3 separate regions of the Homo sapiens genome follow, and all the other regions are linked to region 1. Evidence: promoter capture Hi-C in human tissues and cell types (Jung and others, 2019). All regions are on one chromosome and are shown on one strand. The core of a region is centred on a gene start or on the middle of the fragment in contact, and the rest is flanking DNA. Distances in the headings are between cores, read along the strand shown. Region 1 holds the start of GRIPAP1 (GRIP1 associated protein 1). Region 2 overlaps ZNF41 (zinc finger protein 41). Region 3 has its middle 7.1 kb from the start of ZNF81.

Region 1 (2,799 bases), core at 157-2,656:
CACTGTTCTCTGGTAGTCTGCTCAAGGTCAGAGGGCTTGGCCTTCACAGAATCTTTCCTACTCCTGTCCTCTCCAGGACCCAGTGATCTGTCTCTCCAAGTACTGGTCCAAGTGGAATATCCTTTGTACCCCCCGAGACTTGCCCCCCAACAAAGCCCAGTAGTTCTCCCTCATTCATGGCCCAGTGGGATCAATGTTCCTCATTCAAGGGTATTCCCACTCCCCTCAAGATCTCCCCAGTCATGATCCATTGGGAATGGCCCTACACCCTTCAGGGTAGGCCTCTACAAGGCCTTGGGTAGGCCAGTTGGATGACTCTTACTCACTTAGAATCCCTTTCAGATGACAGTGGTCTTCCCCATTCATGGGTTAATCAACTCGCCCTTCCATTCTCAGTGTCCCTCACACAGGGACAGCTGGTTTCCCTCATTCAAGGACCAATTGGATTACCTGTCCTCCCTCAGAGTTCCTCCCCTCCCCATGCAGGACCCTGTTCAGACCCCCCCCCCAGTGAGGAACCCTCTCAACAAGGGCCCATTCATAGTGCAATGCTATGGCCTTTCATTGCATCTCAGAGTCCCCCCAAAAGAATCAAGTGGGGGTACCTCCCCAAAGCCCAGTGATCTTCCCTCCTTGTAGTCCAAGGTATCAATCTTTTACCCCTCTGGTCCTCCCCCCAGTTAATGGGATTAATGGTATTACCCATTCATGGCCTTCTTCACCCCAGGCCTAATGGGATCACCCTTAATCATCCAATGGTGCCGCCCCCTCTTAGGATGCACTACCAACCACCAATGGCACAGGATCTCCACCTCCCAGGAACAATGACAACATCTGGGGTCTTTCCCCAATCCCCGGGCACAGTGGTATCTCCCCCAAAACTTACCACCTCCCACCCGCTAATGGTTCTGCCCTCTCAAGGGCTCCCACCACCATGACGCAAACGACCCAACACCCGCTTCCTTCCTCTCCAGACAAAATGGTTTCGCCTTCTCAGGATCTCCTTCCCTCAAAGCCCATTATCATCACCCGCCGACGGTGTCCCCTGCACGGGCCCAAAAGTCTCGTCCCCTCCAGGTCTGAGTAAGGTACCGCCTACTTAATGGCGCTCTCCCAGCCCACAATGCTAACAGAGTCCAACCTTCAAAGCCGCAGAGTATCTCGGAATCCAATAGTCTCACCACTCCGAGCCTCAGTTTCCCTTCTCCAGACCCACCCCATAAACTCAGGGTCCATCCCAACCAACCCCTTCTCAGAGCTGATAGCACGACCTCTCGCTACCCCGCCCCCGGTCGCCTAGCCGGGTGGTCTTTCCCACCGCGAGCGGCACCTGCATCCGCTGAAACTCCTCCTCAGACAGAGCTTGCGCCATGTTCCTCCCCCCACCCCCCCGCCAGCTTTCTGCGCAGACGCAGCTCGCGCCTCCTGGCAGTATTAAGGTCGGACCAAACCACTGGCCAGGAATGGAGGGGGTAGAACCTAATTCCGAAGGGCAGCATTTTGGAGACGCAGAGAAGAGAACGAAACCGACGAGTCAGGTGAACTGTAATACAACGTTCTACCCGAATGTAAGTCATCTGATTGGCTTTTGGACTCTTCTAGGCCACCCATTGTGATACGACATTATTACATCCCCGTTTCATGGGTGGACTCGTCGCTAGGGAAGTCTTTGCCGACAGAAAATCACCCTTCCGCGGTATTCCTTTAATGAGAATGGGTAACTTAATAACCATAGAAATGAAAGCGGAAGCTTCGCTCTGGTCTTGTTCCCGCCCCTCCTCCGGGAGACCCCAAAGGGGAATCCCACCTCTTGTAAAGCCTTTGGCCTTTTTTTTTTTTTTTTTTTTTAAGGTTTGACACTTATTTTGTTATCATGATACTGCATGTCACGTTAGGTAAAGGACTTAGCCACCAATAAAAATAGCAGAGTGGAAAGAGTGACAGTGAATCAAACGAAAAAGCTACATTAAAACAAAACAAAAACAAAAAACAAACCAGGGTGGTGAAACACCAGGCTCATTCAAGTATTAGAATTCACTATAACCCTCACCGATCTGAGAGTAAGAAATGGTATCTCAGTGTAGTTTTTTTCTTATTTTCTTTTTTCTTTCTGTTTTTGTTGTTGTTGTTGTTGTTGTTTTTCTTTTTTGAGACGGAGTTTCACTTTTGTTGCCCAGGCTGGAGTGCAGTGGCACGATATCCGATCACAGCAACCTCCGCTTGGCGAGTTCAAGCGATTCTCCTGCCTCAGCCTCCCGAGTAGCTGGGATTACAGGCGCCCGCCACCTCGTCCGGGTAATTTTTTTTTTTTTTTTTAGTAGAGACGGGGTTTCTCCATATTGGTCAGGCCGGTCTCGAACTCCCGACCTCAGGTAGTCCGCCCGCCTCGGCCTCCCAGAGTGCTGGGATTAAGGCGTGAGCCACCGCGCCCAGCCTTCTTATTTTCGTAGAATTTAATGATTTCCCTGCTGTGGAAAAATATTTCCAGCAGGGCCGGGCGCGGTGGCTCACGCCTGTAATCCCAGCACTTTGGGAGGCCAAGGAGGGCTGTTCACTTGCGGTCAGGAGTTCGAGACTAACCTGGCCAACATGGTGAAACCCCATCTCTACTAAAAACACAAAAATTGGCCGGGTGTGGTGGTGGGCGCCTGTAATCCCAGCTACTCGGAAGGCTGAGGCACGAGAATCGCTTGAACCCGCCAGGCAGAGGTTGCGGTGAGCCGAGATCGCACCACTACACTCCAGCCTGGGGGATAGAGCGAGACTCTGTCTCCAAGAAAAGAAAGAAAAAGAAAAGTA
Region 2 (2,799 bases), core at 116-2,615, 1.6 Mb before region 1:
GACCATAGTATCATTATAAAATGACCCTTTTGTGTTTAGTAACATTTTCCAACTAAATTTCTATTTTGCCAGAAATCAGTATAGCCACTCCAGCTCATTTATGTTACTCTTTGCATGTTAGATATTTTTCCATCATTTTACTTTCAGCGTATTTGTAACTTTGAATCTAAAGTGTGGCTTTTACAGGTAGCATATGGTTGGATCCTGTCTTCATCCTAATATGACAGTCTCTGCCTTTTGATTGGGGAATTTAGTCCATTTATTTCGAATATAATTATTGATATGGATAGATTTACATCTGCCATTTTGAGATTTGTTTTCCTTAGCTCTCATATCTTTTTGTTCTTTCTCTTTCTCTCTTTTTTTTTTTTTGGTGAACTAGATATTTTATTTTTTTTTATTTTTTATTTTTGAGACAGTGTCTTGCTCTGTAGCACAGGCTAGAGTGCAGTGACACTATCATGGCTTACTGCAGTCTCCAATTCCTGGGCTCAAGCGATCCTTTTGCTTCAGCCTCCTGATTAGCTGGGACCACAGGCATGTACCACCACACGTGGCTATTTAATATATAAAGACACCAAGTCTTTAACTATTAAATGCAACATGTGGACATCCTCAGAGACAGTTTCTAGTGGACTGGTATTTTTTTTTCCCCTGTGTATGGACCAGAATTCTCTGTGTGTGCAGTTTGTTTGTTTTGCATGTCTCATAATTGTTAAAAAGTTGACACTGTAGATAATATATATTTTAGTAATTCTGGATTATGACCCCACCCTCCACAGTTATTATTGTTGCTGTTGTTTTTTGTTTGTTTAGGGACTCATGGGGACTAATTCTGTAGAGTTTTTCATCCCTCAGTGTGCAGTTACTGATGTCTCTGCTTAGTTTTTTTTTTTGAGATGGAGTTTCACTCTTGTTGCCCAGGCTGGAGTGCAGTGGTGCGATTTCAGCTCACTGCAACCTCCACCTCCCAGGTTCAAGCGATTCTCCTGCCTCAGCCTCCCAAGTAGCTAGAATTACAGGCATGCGCTACCACACCTGGCTAATTTTATATTTTTAGTAGAGATGGGGTTTTACCATGTTGGCCAGGCTGGTCTTGAACTCCTGACCTCAGGTGATCCTCCTGCCTCAGCCTCCCAAAGTGCTGGGATTACAGGTGTGAGCCGCCACACCTGGCTGTTTAGTTTTTAAATAATTCTTTCCGTTTTTATGCCTGGCTTCCTTGGGGTCACCTGTGGGTCTGCATAGCTTATTTTTATCCAATGATTGCTTAGAAGTTGTGATTATACACCTCAAACCAGTATGGCTTCCACTAAGGGGATAACTGTGTGAGTTTGAGTACGCATATTAAGTTCGGTCTGCTTGTAAGTCTGTGCTGGCATTCATTTCGGCTTGTATAGGGTCTCACATTCATCTAGGTACCTGATATTTTGTGGTCATGTACACAGCCTTCCACATCCTCATGCATATGCATGGACTTATCAATTCCCACTACTGCTGTCTTATTTTCCATATCCCTTTAATTTTTTGTCTGGTCTGCTGCTCACTCAAACAATGTTGCAGCCTCAGGCAGCTGTGAGGTTGGCCTTCCCCAATTACTTGCTACCAACATTGCTGTTGTTTTTGACAATACCCCTAGGCATGGAGCTTTTCTCTGGAGCTCAGAGTCAGGTCAGCTCCCTCCATTTACAGTGAGGCTTCCATTCCTCATGGCTACCATGCCCACAGAGCTGTGGATGGGAGCAGCTCCAAGTCTAAATGCCATAGACCCCACTATTCTTATCAAGGTTTGGTAGTTTTTGACCATTTAAAAAAAGCTTTTGGGGGAGGGGTTTTGATGAGCTCCTCACCCTACCATTCCAGAAGCTCCACCTCTGGACAAGTGATGGTTTTTCTTTTTTAAGAGACTGGGTCTCACTCTGTTACCCAGGCTGGAGTGCAGTGGTGTGGATCATAGCTCCCTGCAGCCTCTAGCTCCTGGGCTCAAGCAATCCTCCCACCCCAGCCTTCTGAGTAACTGGGACTATAGGCATGCACCACTACCCCTGGGTAATTTAAAAAGAATTTTTTTAGAGACAGGATCTTGCCATGTTGCCCAAGCTGGTCTTGAACTCCTGGCCTCAAGTGATCCCCCCATGTCAGCCTTGCAAAACACTGGGATTACAGGGCATGAGCCACCATGTCTGGCCTGGACAAGTGACTTTTGACAAAAGTCAAAATATTGAGAAAGGGTAGTATTTTTAAACAAATGGTGTGGAAACATTTGAATATCCATAAGCAAAAACAAAACAAAACAAAACAAAAACATAAAAGAACTTGGATCCATATTTCACACCATATAACTCAAAATACATGCTAGATCTAGATGTAAAACTTAAACCTTTAGAAGAAAACACAGGAAAAAATCATTGTAATCTTTGGTTAGGCAAGGATTTCTTAGATACAGCACTCAAAGCACAACCCAGAAATGAACAAATGGAAAGAACGGACTTCATCAAAATAAGCAGTTCTGTTCTTCAAAAGACACTCTTAAGAGAATGAAAAGACAATCCAGAGACTGGGAGAAAACCTTTGCAAGGATAATGGACTGATAGTGAAGTTACACCCAGAATATATTTTTAAAAACTATCAGTGCTCAACAATAAAAAAACCCAAATAACCCAACTGATAATGGGCAAAAGATTTAAACAGACACTTCATCAAAGATTCTCAATAAAAGATGATCAATATTATTAATCATTAGGGCAGTGTAAATTAATATCACAATATAACTTCACATGTACTAGGATAGCTATAATA
Region 3 (2,799 bases), core at 132-2,631, 1.2 Mb before region 1:
TTGAGGTTAGGAGTTAATGACCAGCTTGGCCAACATGGTGAAACTCCATCTCTACTAAAAAAATACAAAAATTAGCTGGGCATGGTGGTGGGCACCTGTAATCCCAGCTACTCAGGTGGCTGAGGCAGGAGAATGGCTTGAACCCGGGAGGCAGAGGTTGCAGTGAGCTGAGATCAGGCCACTGCACTACAGCCTGGGTGACAGAGCGAGACTCCATCTCAAAAATAAATAAATAAGGAATTAATTAATTAAACTGTACACCAAAAAGTCAATGTTACTATATGATAATTTAAACATAAAATTTTAAATCGTTTAAAAAAACCTCTCAAATTTCTTAGGGGTGAGAATGGGTTTGTGGCTATGCAAGAAAATGTCCTTGTTCTTAGGAGAGTGGAAATCTACACAGATGATCCAATGAGAAAAAGCAGAGACTTTTCAGAGCTTACTACAGTAAGGTATTGGGCCATTATCACTTGGCGTTTGTCAAAGACTCAAAGGCAGGCAGAAGAATGGGAAAGCTTTATATGTAGTAGAAAAAGGGGAAGGCTTCAGGTGTGTCCTGATTGGAGGGTGTTGGAGTGCACAAGCTGGAGGTGGACTAACTGAAGTGGGGCATCCTATGCGATTGATTTGGGAAGTAGATTTGGCTTTTTCTGGTTGGCCCTGAGTTGGAAATTGGGTTAAAAAAATTGAGAAGCTAGATGTCATCAATCAAATCCTGACCATCTGGGCTGATTGCTACTGAGGTTGTGGTTTGGCTTCCCATGCTTATTGCTGTAGAGGTTGTAGGTCAGGATTCTATTGTTATATATGGTCTGGCCATTGCCTGTTTGTATATTCAGTCCCTCAGGAGATACATGCTGAGTATATATCCTGCTGAGTATAAGGAGCATGATGTCTGCAGCTTACTGTACAAAGGTATTGTAAAACAAACACGGTGGAGTCCTCAGTTTCTCTGTTGCCTTCTACCTTGCACCTTTCATCCTTTTTTGCTATCTCTCCCCTGCCCCCATGAGCTCTGACTAGCAGATAAGCCACAATGTTTGCAAAAGTAATCCTCTAAAAATACTGTCCTGAAGGGTTCTGATTGAGCAAGGGGCACAAAAACAGGAACGACCCTGCCACCAACTACGAGTTTCACTTAAAGTCAAAAACTGCTATCCAGGCCAGGCATGGTAGCTCACAACTATAATCCTAGCACTTTGGGAGGCTGAGGCAGGAGGATCGCTTGAGGACAGGAGTTTGGTATCAGCCTGGGCAACATAGCGAGACCCCGTCTCTCTCTAGTGTGTGTGTGTGTGTGTGTGTGTGTGTGTGTGTGTGTGTGTGTGTGTGTGTGTGTGTGTGTATACACACATACAGCTACCTAAGCCAAAAGCAAGAACACATATTCCACTTTCCCTCATAAAAACCCTGACCCTGCTTCAATCAGGACATCACCTGATGCACCTCAGCTGAATAAAGCCTTTAAGCTCTATAGCAGTCACTTCAATCATTTTCTTTTGACTCTGTTTTTAAATGATGGGGCCTGTATATATGCAAACAGAAATATAAGGCAAATGTGACATAGATGAACAATTGTTACTTCTAGGTGGAAGGTATTTGAATATTCATAGTGCAATTCTTTCAACTTTTGTGTAGGTGTGAAATTTTTCCATTAAAAAGCTGGGTGTAAAATAAATAAGGTATTATTGCTTGCTATCTACTGAAGTATGTAAATGGTTGTGGTTATTGGTCCTGAGGTCCCTGCTCAGCCATTGAACCTGATACTTTTCACAAAGGTTTCTTTGACTTCTGTCAGTGGAAGACTTTGTAAAATGTTTTCCCCTACTAAAGGGAGGCACACAAGACAAGAGTGACCAGGAGACCTTGGCTGTGGATTAATTTTTGCATCTGCTCTAGGACACAGGTGCTCATCATTATGTCCTTAGCTGCAGATATAAAAATACTCGAACTCTGCATTCTTCTTGGTTTTCAACTGGGTACCCACATAGATGTAAAGAATCCCGACTGACCTCTCTATTTAAAGTGGCAGTTCTGGAAATCAGTATATGGAAGAAATACCTGCACTCCTATGTTTGTTGCAGCACTGTTTACAATAGCTAAGATTTGGAACCCACCTAAAGGTCCATCAACAGATGAATGGATAAAGAAAACATTGTACTTATACATAATGGAATACAATTTAGCCATAAAAAGAATGAGACCAGTCATTTGCAACAACATGGATGGAACTGGAGATCATTGTTAAGTGAAATAAGCGAGGCACAGAAAGACAAACATCGCATGTTCTCACTTATTTGTGGGAGCTATAAATCAAAACAATTACGGAGATAGAGAGTAGAAGGATGGTTACCAGAGGCTGGGAAGGATAATGGGGGGCTGGTGGGGAGGTGGGGATGGTTAGCAGGTACAAGAAATATAGTTAGAAAAAATGAATAAGATCTACTATTTGATAGCACGATAGGGTGACTATAGTCAATAATAACTTAATTGTGCATTTTAAAACATAATTTAAAACATAATTTTTTTTGAGATGGAGTCTCACTCTGTCGCCCAGGCTGGAGTGCAGTGGCACGATCTTGGCTCACTACAACCTCCACTTCCCGGGTTCAAGCAATTCTCTGCCTTAGCTTCCCGAGTAGCTGGGATTACAGGAGTCCGCCACCACACCCGGCTAATTTTTGTATTTTTAGTAGAGACGGGGTTTCACCATCTTGGCCAGGCTGGTCTTGAACTCCTGACCTCGTGATCCACCCGCCTCAGCCTCCCAAAGTGCTGGGATTACAGGTGTGAGCC

The links. The method cuts DNA at HindIII sites, captures the fragments that hold promoters and counts their contacts. A contact is called where the count stands out against the background at its distance.
Region 2: a fragment that was not itself captured here is called in contact with the fragment with the promoter of GRIPAP1 in region 1 in 1 of the 25 tissues and cell types used here (stomach).
Region 3: a contact is called between a fragment that was not itself captured here and the fragment with the promoter of GRIPAP1 in region 1, in 1 of the 25 tissues and cell types used here (aorta).

Annotation. Positions count from the first base shown.
Region 1 is chrX:49,000,858-49,003,656 of GRCh38, forward strand. It overlaps GRIPAP1 (GRIP1 associated protein 1), which reads right to left and starts at 1,407. Exons shown (of 26, transcript NM_020137.5): 1 at 1,331-1,407. The coding sequence starts at 1,372. RefSeq lists an enhancer at 1,416-1,525 and a cis regulatory region at 2,798-2,799. The HindIII fragment of the contact is 33,502 bases long and covers 1-2,799 here.
Region 2 is chrX:47,442,472-47,445,270 of GRCh38, forward strand. It overlaps ZNF41 (zinc finger protein 41), which reads right to left. Exons shown (of 5, transcript NM_001324144.2): 5 at 2,707-2,799. Among named protein-coding and RNA genes, the nearest start is that of LINC01560, 39 kb to the right of the region's middle. The HindIII fragment of the contact is 4,206 bases long and covers 1-2,799 here.
Region 3 is chrX:47,828,448-47,831,246 of GRCh38, forward strand. No RefSeq gene overlaps it. Among named protein-coding and RNA genes, the nearest start is that of ZNF81, 7.1 kb to the right of the region's middle. The HindIII fragment of the contact is 4,232 bases long and covers 1-2,799 here.